2 separate regions of the Homo sapiens genome follow, and region 1 is linked to region 2. Evidence: promoter capture Hi-C in 16 types of primary human blood cells and fetal thymus (Javierre and others, 2016). All regions are on one chromosome and are shown on one strand. Each heading gives the region's core, a stretch centred on a gene start or on the middle of the fragment in contact. The rest is flanking DNA. Distances are from core to core; before and after follow the strand shown.

What was found. The method cuts DNA at HindIII sites, captures the fragments that hold promoters and counts their contacts. A CHiCAGO score of 5 or more calls a contact.
Region 1: the fragment with the promoter of TMED8 here is called in contact with a fragment that was not itself captured in region 2 in 1 of 17 cell types (neutrophils); the score reaches 5.9 in neutrophils.

Annotation. Positions count from the first base shown.
Region 1 is chr14:77,374,746-77,380,343 of GRCh38, reverse strand. It overlaps TMED8 (transmembrane p24 trafficking protein family member 8), which reads left to right and starts at 3,250. Exons shown (of 6, transcript NM_213601.3): 1 at 3,250-3,408. The coding sequence starts at 3,291. It overlaps SAMD15 (sterile alpha motif domain containing 15), which reads right to left and starts at 2,965. Exons shown (of 3, transcript NM_001010860.4): 1 at 1,237-2,965. The coding sequence starts at 2,925. RefSeq lists an enhancer at 2,983-3,192 and a silencer at 3,243-3,672. The HindIII fragment of the contact is 9,682 bases long and covers 1-5,598 here.
Region 2 is chr14:76,817,251-76,823,072 of GRCh38, reverse strand. No RefSeq gene overlaps it. Among named protein-coding and RNA genes, the nearest start is that of LRRC74A, 6.2 kb to the left of the region's middle. RefSeq lists an enhancer at 259-1,039. The HindIII fragment of the contact is 4,403 bases long and covers 1,918-5,822 here.

The DNA.
Region 1 (5,598 bases), core at 2,001-4,500, 560 kb before region 2:
CAAATAGAAGGAAGAAAGGGAGGGAAGGGGGAGGAAGGGAAGAAGTCGTGTTTGTTCTACCCTGAGAAAAAAATATTATTTTGTTTTTTCTTTTTTAGAGACAGGGTCTCACTCTGTCATCCAGGCGGGAGTGCAGTGCTGCAGTCATAGATCACTGCAGCCTCGAACTCCTGGACTCAAGCAGTCCTCCTGCCCCAGCCTCCTGAGTAGCTTAAATTTACTTTCTATCCCAATAACGGCACAATTTTTCCATGTAAGCTCTTTATTAAATTTTACACTGCTCTTTAACTGTTTTTTTGGGCATGGTACAACCAGTGCTTCTTCATGTCTCAATTACATTTGTAAGTATAGTAGGTACAAAAGGTTTCAGATCTTGTATTGTTTTGTGGTAGCCTTAAACCTAGTTGGCATCAGTGAAACAAGAGGTTTACACTGACTTTTTACTAAAACTAGTTTTGGTTAACTGGCTAACTTGAATTAATACACTTAAGTGCTCATGATACAGGTGACATATTTGGGGCAGACACTTTAAAAAGTAATAGCACAAGTTCAAAGCAAGGGAGCTGCCACTAAAATAACTTGACAAAGTACCAAAAAGCCTACCTTGAACAAAGTCTACTTAAAAATACAGTTTTCTATGAAAGGAGGTCTAAGGCCGGGCACGGTGGCTCACGCCTGTAATCCCAGCACTTTGGGAGGCTGAGGCTGGCGGATCACGAGGTCAGGAGATGGAGACCATCCTGGCTAACACAGTGAAACCCCGTCTCTACTAAAAATACAAAAAATTAGCCGCGCATGGTGGCGGGCGCCTGTAGTCCCAGTCCCAGCTACTCAGGAGGTTGAGGCAGGAGAATGGCGTGAACCTGGGGAAGGTGGAGCTTGCAGTGAGCCGAGATCGTGCCACTGCACTCCAACCTTGGCAAGAGCGAGATTGTGTCTCAAAAAAAAAAAAAGAAAGGAGGTCTATATACTCTTCTTGGTCTTTTATTCAAGGATTGCAGAGAAGTGTAATCACTGGAAGAGGAAAAACAAACCGATGTGACCCTCCCTTCCTCTCCCAAAATACAAATATACATCAGTGGCAAGGCCAAAATTAAAATCCAAGTTACCTCTACCACAGTCTAGGACTTTTTGATACTCCTTCCGGTAAAGAGGTAAGAGCTCAGGCCAAGTTAGAAGGAATAAGAAGTAGACGGATGACAGCATGTGATTTCAAAACATCTTATTTTTGTATACCTTGTATTGAGGGAAGCCTAGCTGGCTAATCCACTCTGCAACTTCCTCTGGATCCCAATTAAGATGCTCAAATTGTAACTCAGTCCCTTTTTCTGGCTGGGTTTCGTCATCTTCAGAGACCCGTTCCTTCAACTCTTGGGACAAATCTACAACTTCCTTTTCATGAACGAACTCACTTAATTCTGTCTGAGACTCTGAGGGATCTGAGTATGAGCATTCTTCACTGACATTAAGCAATTTTTGGAGTGGTTGCAAAAACTCATAATGTGTACCAATTGATTCTTCACTTTCTCTGAGAGATCCTAATGCGTAATATTCTTTTCTAAATTTGTCACTTAGTGACAACTTTCCTCTTTTAGGCTCACGGTGCTCTAGCTCATCGTTTCCTACAGAATACTTAGACTTTATTGGTTCTGGCCTGTCTTCCTTGGAAAATTCTACATGTGTCTCCCTTGGTTTGGTTTCATCTGGTAACTCTAGAATTTTCTCAGTTGGCTTTGTTTGTGTTTTCTCTTCAACTTGTGGGTTGATCTCCTGTGGTAGCACTGGACCAGTCTCCTCTGGTGGCTGTGGATTTTTTTTCTCATTTGACTTTCTTATCTCTTCTGGACTTTCTGGTTTCATCATTTCTGATTGTTCTAGAATTGTTTCCTCATTTGTTTTTCTTGATTCTTCCTCAGGAAACTCTAATTTGATCTCTTCTAGTGGCTCAGGAACGTTCTCATCAGTAGACTTTCTTGGCTTGTGGTCTGGAAAGTCTGGTTTAGTCCGCTCAGGTAGTTCTGTCCCTTTCTCCTCAGTTGCCTTTCTTTGCATCTCCTCTGGAACCTCTGGTTGAGTCTCTTCTGGAGGCTCTAGACCTGCCTCCTCACTAGACTTTCTTGGTTCCTTCTCCAGAAATTCCAGTCTAGCCTGCTCGGGTGGCTCTGTCCTTTTCTTCTCAGTTGACTCTCTTTGTGTCTCCTCTGGAGTCTCTGGTTTGGTCATCTTTGGTGGCTGAAGATCTGTCTCTTCAAGTGATTCTCCTAGTTTCTCACTTGGAAAATCTTGTTTGGTCTGCTCTGGAGGCTCTAGACCTGTCTCTTCATGTTGCACTCTAAGTGATTCCTCTGGAACCCCCGGTTCAGTCTCCTCCTCTAGTAATTCTAAATTTCTCTCTCTGACTGTGGCCCCCGAAACCTCAGACATGGTTTCCGTTGGTGGCACTGGATCTGGATCTGTTTCCATAGCTGACTCTAGGAACACATCCTCTGTAACATTTGGTTTAGCCTCCTCTGGTGGCTCTAGGTCTGACTCTTTATGCGTTTCATCCATAGGGGCCTCCAAATCTTTGAAAAACTCTCCCATCTCTCTGGATGTTTCCGACTTTACCTCTTGGTGTATCCCTGGTTCAGTTTCGCTTGGTACGTCTCTCTTGGACTCCTTGGCAATTCCTTCCTGGGACGTCCCGCCAGGTTTCAGCTGCACGTTCTTAGCACTGTCTGGCTCCCCCTCTTTGAAGTCCTCTTCCTCGGTCTCTGGCTGTGGCTCTTGGTAAATCTCTGCTGGTAGCTTCGAGTCTGCCTTTGCCATGGTGTCTGGTTCGGCATTTTCATACAATTTATGAAGTCCAGGCAGTTCAGGCCTCTCAGGCTCCAGCTCTCCATCTTCATCTGGGCCGGAATCATAATCCTCCGGGACTTCAGCCATTTGCAGCTTAGCAGACGCGCCGCGGCTTCCTAGCAACCCCAACTTCCGATAGCGTCTCTATGGATACCACGATTTCCGGCAGTGTCTTCCTGACTCTTCCCCAGGTTTTGTTTGTTCTTTCAAGCCCTGACTTTAAAAATCGTCTGTCACAAGCACGCAGTAACCCTCCCTGCGGCCTCATCGCCAGCCTCAGCGGGCCAGAGCTCCTGTGGCCGCCCCTGGGTCAGCTAGCTTTTCAAGCGGCCGCCGCGCCGCTTCTTCCGGCCTGCAGGCTGCGCTCGGCTGTGCTCGGCGCTCGCTCGGCCTTCGGCTGTTTCCGGAGCCACTCGCGGCTGGCAGCGGAGAGCTCCGTGCGCGGGCTGCAGATGTCTGACCTGCAGGCGGCTGAGGGGCCGGGCTCCTGGAGCCCCACAGCCCGCCCAGGGTCGGCTGGCGGCGTCGGGGACTGCCAGGGAGTGGAGGGGAGCCAGGCGGCCGCCTCAGGTACGCAAGGCCGGGGCGCTGGCGGGTGGGTGCCGCCCGGCCTCAGGGCCCCGCACCACGGCGCGAGCCTCCGCCGCGCTCTGTCCTGGGCTTCCCCGCGGAGCGGACCCACCTCGGCAGCCCCTTCGCGCGCGGGGCCCCTTCCCCGCCGCTGCCACCACCCGGGCCCTGGGCTCGAGGTTATTTTCTACTCACTCCTGTTTCGAAATGCCTTGATTCCTGCCCCGCTTCCTTTCTGAGATCTGCCCAAATGGTAGTGACAGGGTGGCTCTGCCCCTGGCGCCTCTTCAGCTTCAGTTTCAGCTTCAGCCGGGGTTCGGGTCCCACCTCCGTCTGCTAATCACATCTAGACTGCCGACCCGAACCCTACTGGCCTCGCCGCCCCCTGCTTCTGGCTCCCCACCCTATCCCCATCTCAGTCCCCTGCCCCAGCCTTACCACGCGCCTCTCGGCCCCCACCCGGGTTGGCAGCCTTGCCTTCCTCTGCCAGAAGCCCACTGCGCCCTAGCCTTCCTGCACATAGGCCCCCTGGCCTTGCTGCCATCCTCTCCATCGCTTAGAGTGGGAAAAATGAAAAGCAGAGTTGAAATAGGTAGTGTCTGGGGTCTTTTGCTTGAACACAGTAGCCAAAGCAAGAGCAGGAATTAAAAATTTGGCCTACCTCCCTCATTCTCAAGACCCTCATCCTCTTCTTGTCCAGGACGACGTCTCCATTTCTACTAACGCGAGTTCCTCCGTGTGTATTATTTCAGTGTCCAAAGACAAAAGAGTCCATCCATCACACTTTCTTCTTTCAGCCTCCTGAACACCACACACGATGCAACTGAAAGGATGCTCTTTTGAAATACGAAAGGGTAGAGGGGAGAGAACTTGTCTTATTTAAGTAGCAAATATAAATTAATTTTCTAGGTCTGAAATTAAAATAGACACCATAAAGTATAATGGTTGAGGCACTACTGTGGAGCCAGGGTGCCTGGATTGGAGTCTGAAACGTCAGTTTCCTCATCTGTAAAATGTGATTACTAAAAATATCTGCCTCATAGGATTATTGTGAGGATTACTTGAGCTGCTTTGTCTAAGGCATTTGGGGTATAGTCCATGGTACACACTATACTCGTCTCAACCATTGTGACAGTAAGGTCTCTTTTTGTTCAGTTGAACTTCCTGTGCCGCCAGAGGTGTTCTTGGATGTATGGCTTCCAACATGGTGCCTTTTTCTGTCTTCTACTCTGATCCCAAGTATCTTCCCTCTCATAATGCTGCCTTATTCAAACACACACACAACTCACCCAGCTCTTTCCCATGATTTTATATTCTTTTACTTTAAAACACCTGACAAATTTTGCCTTTTTTTCTTACGAACTCTGCTTTGTATTAAATTAAAAATCGTTGGCATATATTTAACATAGCAGTAGAAATTCTAAGCATAATGTCTAAAAGACTAAGCAAGTAAACACAGAAAGGTAAGTCTTATAACACTTGTCCCTTGCATGCGCCAGTATTTACAAATTAAGCATGTTTTTACTTCCCCTTTAGGTTCTCATGTGTTTATGGCAAACGTACCCACGCGTTTTAGATAGATGAGTGTGTTTTTTTTTCCCCCTGACATCTAATTCATTCCTGCATTCACTTCCTCCCAGGACATTGGTAGAGATGCTTACTTTCCTTCCTCTTACCCTCAGAATGCAGGGTGATAATTTTTTTTTTTAATGTCATGTAGGGGTTTATTATAGTAGCCCAGAGCAAGCTCTTCCTCTTGAGGTAGGATTTGTTGCTAATAAAATAATAGTAATGATAACCTACAGATATTGAATGCTTATTCTGTGCCAGAGGTGGAAAAAAATTTATATTTTCTGATTTAGTCATGTCAACAATCATTTTCTTCCCATTTTACAGAGGAACAAACTACAGCTGAGAAAGGTTAACTTACCTGTTCAAGTTAGCGCAAGTTTTTACTGTCTGGATGAAATTGTCATCTTGTTATGATGAAGTCTATAATTGTTTGTTTTTATTGGCCATGAATCAAGTATTGGTACTCGCAGACAGGTTATGGTCTCTGTCCTCAAGGTGTTTTCAGTTTGATGAGATGAGAGATCCATTTCAGGGAGAAACAATTAACAATTCAAAACATTATATAATTGGGCGTCTTTTATTACAATTCTTTATCTACTAAGAAACCTGCTTGGAGTT
Region 2 (5,822 bases), core at 2,870-5,369:
CTCTGCAAATATCCTCTTTCTGCTTAAATTTTTGCCCACTAATGTTAGCATCTATTAATGGATCGTGCCTCAACAATTACTGTGGTGTTCTCATGGTGATTTTCTGTATTCGCAATCCTTTTGCATTTATCAACTGGAATTTTTCTATAGGAGTTGCCCCTCTCTGCTACTTGTTTATTCAGTTGTTTGTATCTATAGGGACTCAGGTTTATTTTATTCCTTGGGTTACAATACAATACTATCATTTATTTTACTGTTCAAGTTCCAACTTTGGCCATTGAGAGTTCCTTCAGGTGGGCTCCTGTGCCCTTTTGTTTTTTTTTTTTTTTTTTTTTTTAATTTTTATTTTTTTTATTGATCATTCTTGGGTGTTTCTCGCAGAGGGGGATTTGGCAGGGTCATAGGACAATAGTGGAGGGAAGGTTGGCAGATAAACAAGTGAACAAAGGTCTCTGGTTTTCCTAGGCAGAGGACCCTGCGGCCTTCCGCAGTGTTTGTGTCCCTGGGTACTTGAGATTAGGGAGTGGTGATGATTCTTAACGAGCATGCTGCCTTTCAAGCATCTGTTTAACAAAGCACATCTTGCACCGCCCTTAATCCATTTAACCCTGAGTGGACAGAGCACATGTTTCAGAGAGCACAGGGTTGGGGGTAAGGTCACCGATCAACAGGATCCCAAGGCAGAAGAATTTATCTTAGTACAGAACAAAATGAAAAGTCTCCCATGTCTACTTCTTTCTACACAGACACGGCAACCATCCGATTTCTCAATCTTTTCCCCACCTTTTCCCCCTTTCTATTCCACAAAACCGCCATTGTCATCCCGGCCCGTTCTCAATGAGCTGTTGGGTACACCTCCCAGACGAGGTGGTGGCTGGGCAGAGGGGCTCCTCACTTCCTAGTAGGGGTGGCCGGGCAGAGGCGCCCCTCACCTCCCAGACGGGGCGGCTGTCCGGGCGGGGGGCTGACCCCCCCACCTCCCTCCTGGACAGGGCGGCTGGCCGGGCGGGGGGCTGACCCCCCCACCTCCCTCCCGGACGGGGCGGCTGGCCGGGCAGAGGGGCTCCTCACTTCCCAGTAGGGGCGGCTGGGCAGAGGCGCCCCTCACCTCCCGGACGGGGCGTCTGGCCGGGCGGGGGGCTGACCCCCCCACCTCCCTCCCGGACGGGGCGGCTGGCCGGGCGGGGTGCTGATCCCCCCACCTCCCTCCTGGACGGGGCGGCTGGCCGGGCGGGGGGCTGACCCCCCCACCTCCCTCCCGGACGGGGCGGCTGGCCCAGCAGAGGGGCTCCTCACTTCCCAGTAGGGGCGGCTGGGCAGAGGCGCCCCTCACCTCCCGGACGGGGCGTCTGGCCGGGCGGGGGGCTGACCCCCCCACCTCCCTCCCGGACGGGGCGGCTGGCCGGGCGGGGGGCTGACCCCCCCACCTCCCTCCCGGATGGGGCGGCTGGCCGGGCGGGGGGCTGACCACCCCCACCTCCCTCCCGGACGGGGCGGCTGTCCTGTGCCCTTTTGACATCCTCCTTCCCCTTTTTTTGAGCCCTCCCTCACTCTCTGGAGTCACAGAAATTACTTTTCTGGGCAGGCGTGGTGGCGCATGCCTGTAATCCCAGAACTTTGGAAGGCTGAGGCAGGAGGATCACCTGAAGTCAGGAGTTCGAGACCAGCCTGGCCAACATGGCAAAACCCTATCTTAGCTAGGTGTGGTGGCACGTGCCTGTAGTCCCAGCTACTCAAGACGCTGAAGCACAAGAATCAGTTGAACCCGGGAGGCGGAGGTTGCAATGAGCAGAGATCTCTCCATGGCACTCTAGCCTGGGTGACAGTGAGACTTTATCAAAAAAAAAAAAAAAAAAAAAAAAGGAAGAAGTTATCTCTCCAAGGAGAATTATATTTGGAAACCTAGATCTGGAAGCTTGTGCATTCATCACCATGTGGGTATCACTACTTCTAGACTTTTTGGTGAACAGAGCTAGGAAATGTGTGTGTGTGCATGTAAACTAATCCACCCATAACACACATATATATTTATTTCCATACCAGTCTATCTATATATGTACATTGAACAAAAACCATCTATAATGATGCCTCGATCCCCAGCCTAGCACTACATGACTCATTCATGCCTTCTCCTTTTTCATATTTGTCATTTCTTTCTCCTGGCCAGAAACCTGGCTCTTGTTTTCTACCATATATCTGCTTATTTGTTCATCTCTAATATATATACATAATTAGTTTCGGAATTGCTAAGCCATAGTCCTAGAAACAAATTTACTAACTAGAGCATGGTGTCAGTATATAAGTTGTGGTTGTTTATCCTTGTGGTAGCCAGTCAAAATACTTTTTTCCCCAGTTATTTAGGTCAACTCTTTCTTCCCACCCGCTTCAGTGGGTTATTTAATTCACTTGTAATACAGTTAGATTCATTTGTCAGAGTCTGCATTTCATCTTTCCCCAATATCCTGGTTGATTTTATTGTGGCTGACATATGGCAGAATTCATTCTTTGTGGTGTACAGTTCTACATGTTTTGACAAATCCATGAAGTCACATATCCACCACCACAGTCCAATTCAAAAGAGTTCCATCACCCTCAACAGCCTCTCATGCTGCCTCCTTTACCCCTCGTCCCTCCCTGTCTGCTGGAAACCAGTCTTCTCTTTTCTATCCTAATAGTTTTGCCTTTCCTAAATTATATTAATGAGGCCATACAATGTGTAGTTTTTTGAACTAGTTTCTTTCATTTAACAAAATGCATTTAAGAGTCATCCATGTTGCTGCAGAGTTCCTTTTTATGGCAGAGTAATAGTCTGTTACAGAGATGTACCACACTTTGCTTATGCATTCACCTGCTGAAAGACATCTTCATATTTTCCACTTTTTTGGTGATTATGAATAAAATGGCTATCAACATTCATGTGCAGGTTTTTGTGTGAACATGAGCTTTCTTCTCTCTTGAGTAAATACTTAGGAGTGGGATTGCTGTGGACTCATTTCTTTCCTTTTCTTTTTTTCTTTTCTTTTTTTTTTTTTTGAGACAGAGTCTTGCTCTGTCGCCTAGGCTAGAGTGCGGTAGTGCAATCTTGGTTCACTGCAACCTCCGCCTCCCAGATTCAGGCGATTCTCCTGCCTCAGCCTCCTGAGTAGCTGGGATTACAGGTGTGTGCCACCATGCCTGGCAAATTTTTGTATTTTTAGTAGAGACAGGGTTTCACCATGTTGGCCAGGCTGGTCTTGAATTCCTGACCTCAGGTGATCCACCCGCTTCAGCCTCCCAAAGTGCTGGGATTACAGGAGTGAACCACTATGCCCAAACGTGTATGCCCATTTTGAATTCCCACCAGGAATGTATGACAGCATCAGTTGCTCCACATCCTTGCCAATATTTACCATTTCCAGTTTTTGGTTTTGTTCTTCCATTCTAGTAAGTGTGTAGTGGTATTTCATGATGGTTTTAATTTGCATTTCCCCAATGATTAATGATGTTGAGCATCCTTTCGCATGCTTACTTGCCATTTATATATTTCCTTTGTTCTTGGTTCAGATCTTTTGCTCATTTCATTTTATTTACTATTTTTTTTGAGATGGAATTTCGCTCTTGTTGCTCAGGCTACAGTGCAATGGTGCGATCTTGGCTCACCACAACCTCCACCTCCTGGGTTCAAGCAATTCTCCTGCCTCAGCCTCCCGAGTAGCTGGGATTACAGGCATGCACCACCACGCCTGGCTAATTTTGTATTTTTAGTAGAGATGGGGTTTCTCCATGTTGGTCAGGCTGGTCTCGAACTCCCGACCTCAGGTGGTCTGCCCGCCTCAGCCTCCTAAAGTGCTGGGATTACAGGTGTGAGCCACCGCGCCTGGCCCTTTTACTCGTTTTAAGTTGGGTTGTTTATTTTTTTATTGCTGAGTTTGGCAAATTCTTGATATATTCTGGAAATAAGTCTTTTGTCAGAAATGGGATTTGCAAATATTTTCTCTCAGTCTGTGGCTTGTCTTCTCATTCGCTTAACAATGTCTTTCACAGAGTAAAAGTTTTAATTTTAATAAAGCCAAATTTTGTCAAAATTATACAAATATTATCTTTTTTTTCCTATTATGGATCACATTTTTGGTGTCATATCTAAAAATTATTTGCCTACCCCAAGGTCATGCGGATTTTCTCCTGTTTTGCTCTAGAATTTTTATAGTTTTGGCTTTTGCATTTAGGTTTATGATCCATTTAATTTTTTTATTGTGGTGAAACATGCATGATAAAATTTGCCATTTTAACCATTAAATTTAACATTTTAAAGTGTACAATTCAGTGAGTTTAAGTATATGCACAATGTTGTGCAACCATCACCCCTATCTATTTCCAGAACTTTTCCCGTGACCCATTTTGAGCTAGTTTTTGTATAAGGTGTGAAGTTATAGGTTGAGATTCATTTGTTTCACTTGTGGACGTTCAATTGTTCCATCGCCATTTATTGAAAAGACTATTCTTTTGCCATTTAATTGTCTTTTGACCATTGTTGAAAATCAGCTGAATTTGTACCTTTTCAATTTTGTTGTGGGGCTAGTATTTCAGAAACCACATAACCAGCATGTGCTGTACCCTCTGATTAAACTGTTGTGCTTTTGAACTACTGGTTTGTGAGGTAAGCCATCATGGTACTGAGAGGTGGGTCTGAAAGCAGTTAGGGGTGGGAGGTGCATTGACTGTACAGTTAATCCAAGGAGCTTGGCTGACATTTTGAGGACAGTGGGAGTTTGCACTAAAAGGTCTTAGGCAGCAGTGACCTGATACGATTCACACAGTGGAAAGATTGCTCTGGCTACAGTGTGGAAAATGGATCGAGGTAGGGGAGAATCAACACTAGTCAGGAGTGGCTGGAGGAAGTGGACCCATTGAATAAATACAAAGAAGGCCAAACCACATGGATCTGGGAATCAATCAGATATATAAGAGAAAGCAGAGAAGAAAAAAGCGGGGGCCAGGATAGCTCAGTACATGGCTGTGCAACTCCTAAAGGAGAGAACAAAGGAGCTGGGGCAGGGGTCTTTTGGAGGATGGTGGCGGGGAGGTGATGAGTACAGCTTTGACTGGGTTGAGTCTTTGAGTTGTCGCTGGAGTGCCCACTGGGAGAGGTCCACAGGCAAAAAGATTTATGGGTCTGTGACCCAGGAAAAGGATTTGGGTTAAAAATGTAGATGTGTGAGTTGTCAGCATATGGATGGTATTTGAAGCCATTGGAGTGGTGAGACTTTCTCAAGAAGGGACAGTGGAGTAAGAGGAGGGGAGAGGCCAAAGGAGAAATCCTAGGAACATCATCAGGAAAAGGGTGGTGGTGAGAGGAACAGAAGTGAAGGATACAAGGATAGGACATCCACCAAGACAAGCGGAAAACAAGAATGTCACAGAAACCGAGGGAAGAGAATCTTACAAGAAGGGGGAAGTTATGCAAAATTACAGAATATTCAAGAAATAATAATGCCTAGGGCGTGTTCTTTCTGCAGGACCCTACTATCCTCAACAAGGAAAGCATCAGGAACAGTGAGGAGGGAGTTTTGGTGGTGTAATGGTGGTGGAAGCTATATCTCAGTGGAATGAGCATGAATAAGAGTGAGGAATTGTAGACAGCAGCTGCAGACAACTCTTGCAAGAAGATTGGCTGTGAGAGGTGGGAACGCAGGGGCTAGCTGGAGGGGACCTGGCACTGAAGGAGGGCTTCTTGACAGGAGTGACTTGAGCATGCTTAAATGTTGATGACAAGGGGTCAGTGAAGGAAAGGAGAGGGGTAGTAGAAGGAACATCATCTCAGAGGAAGGGGGAGGGGGTCCGGA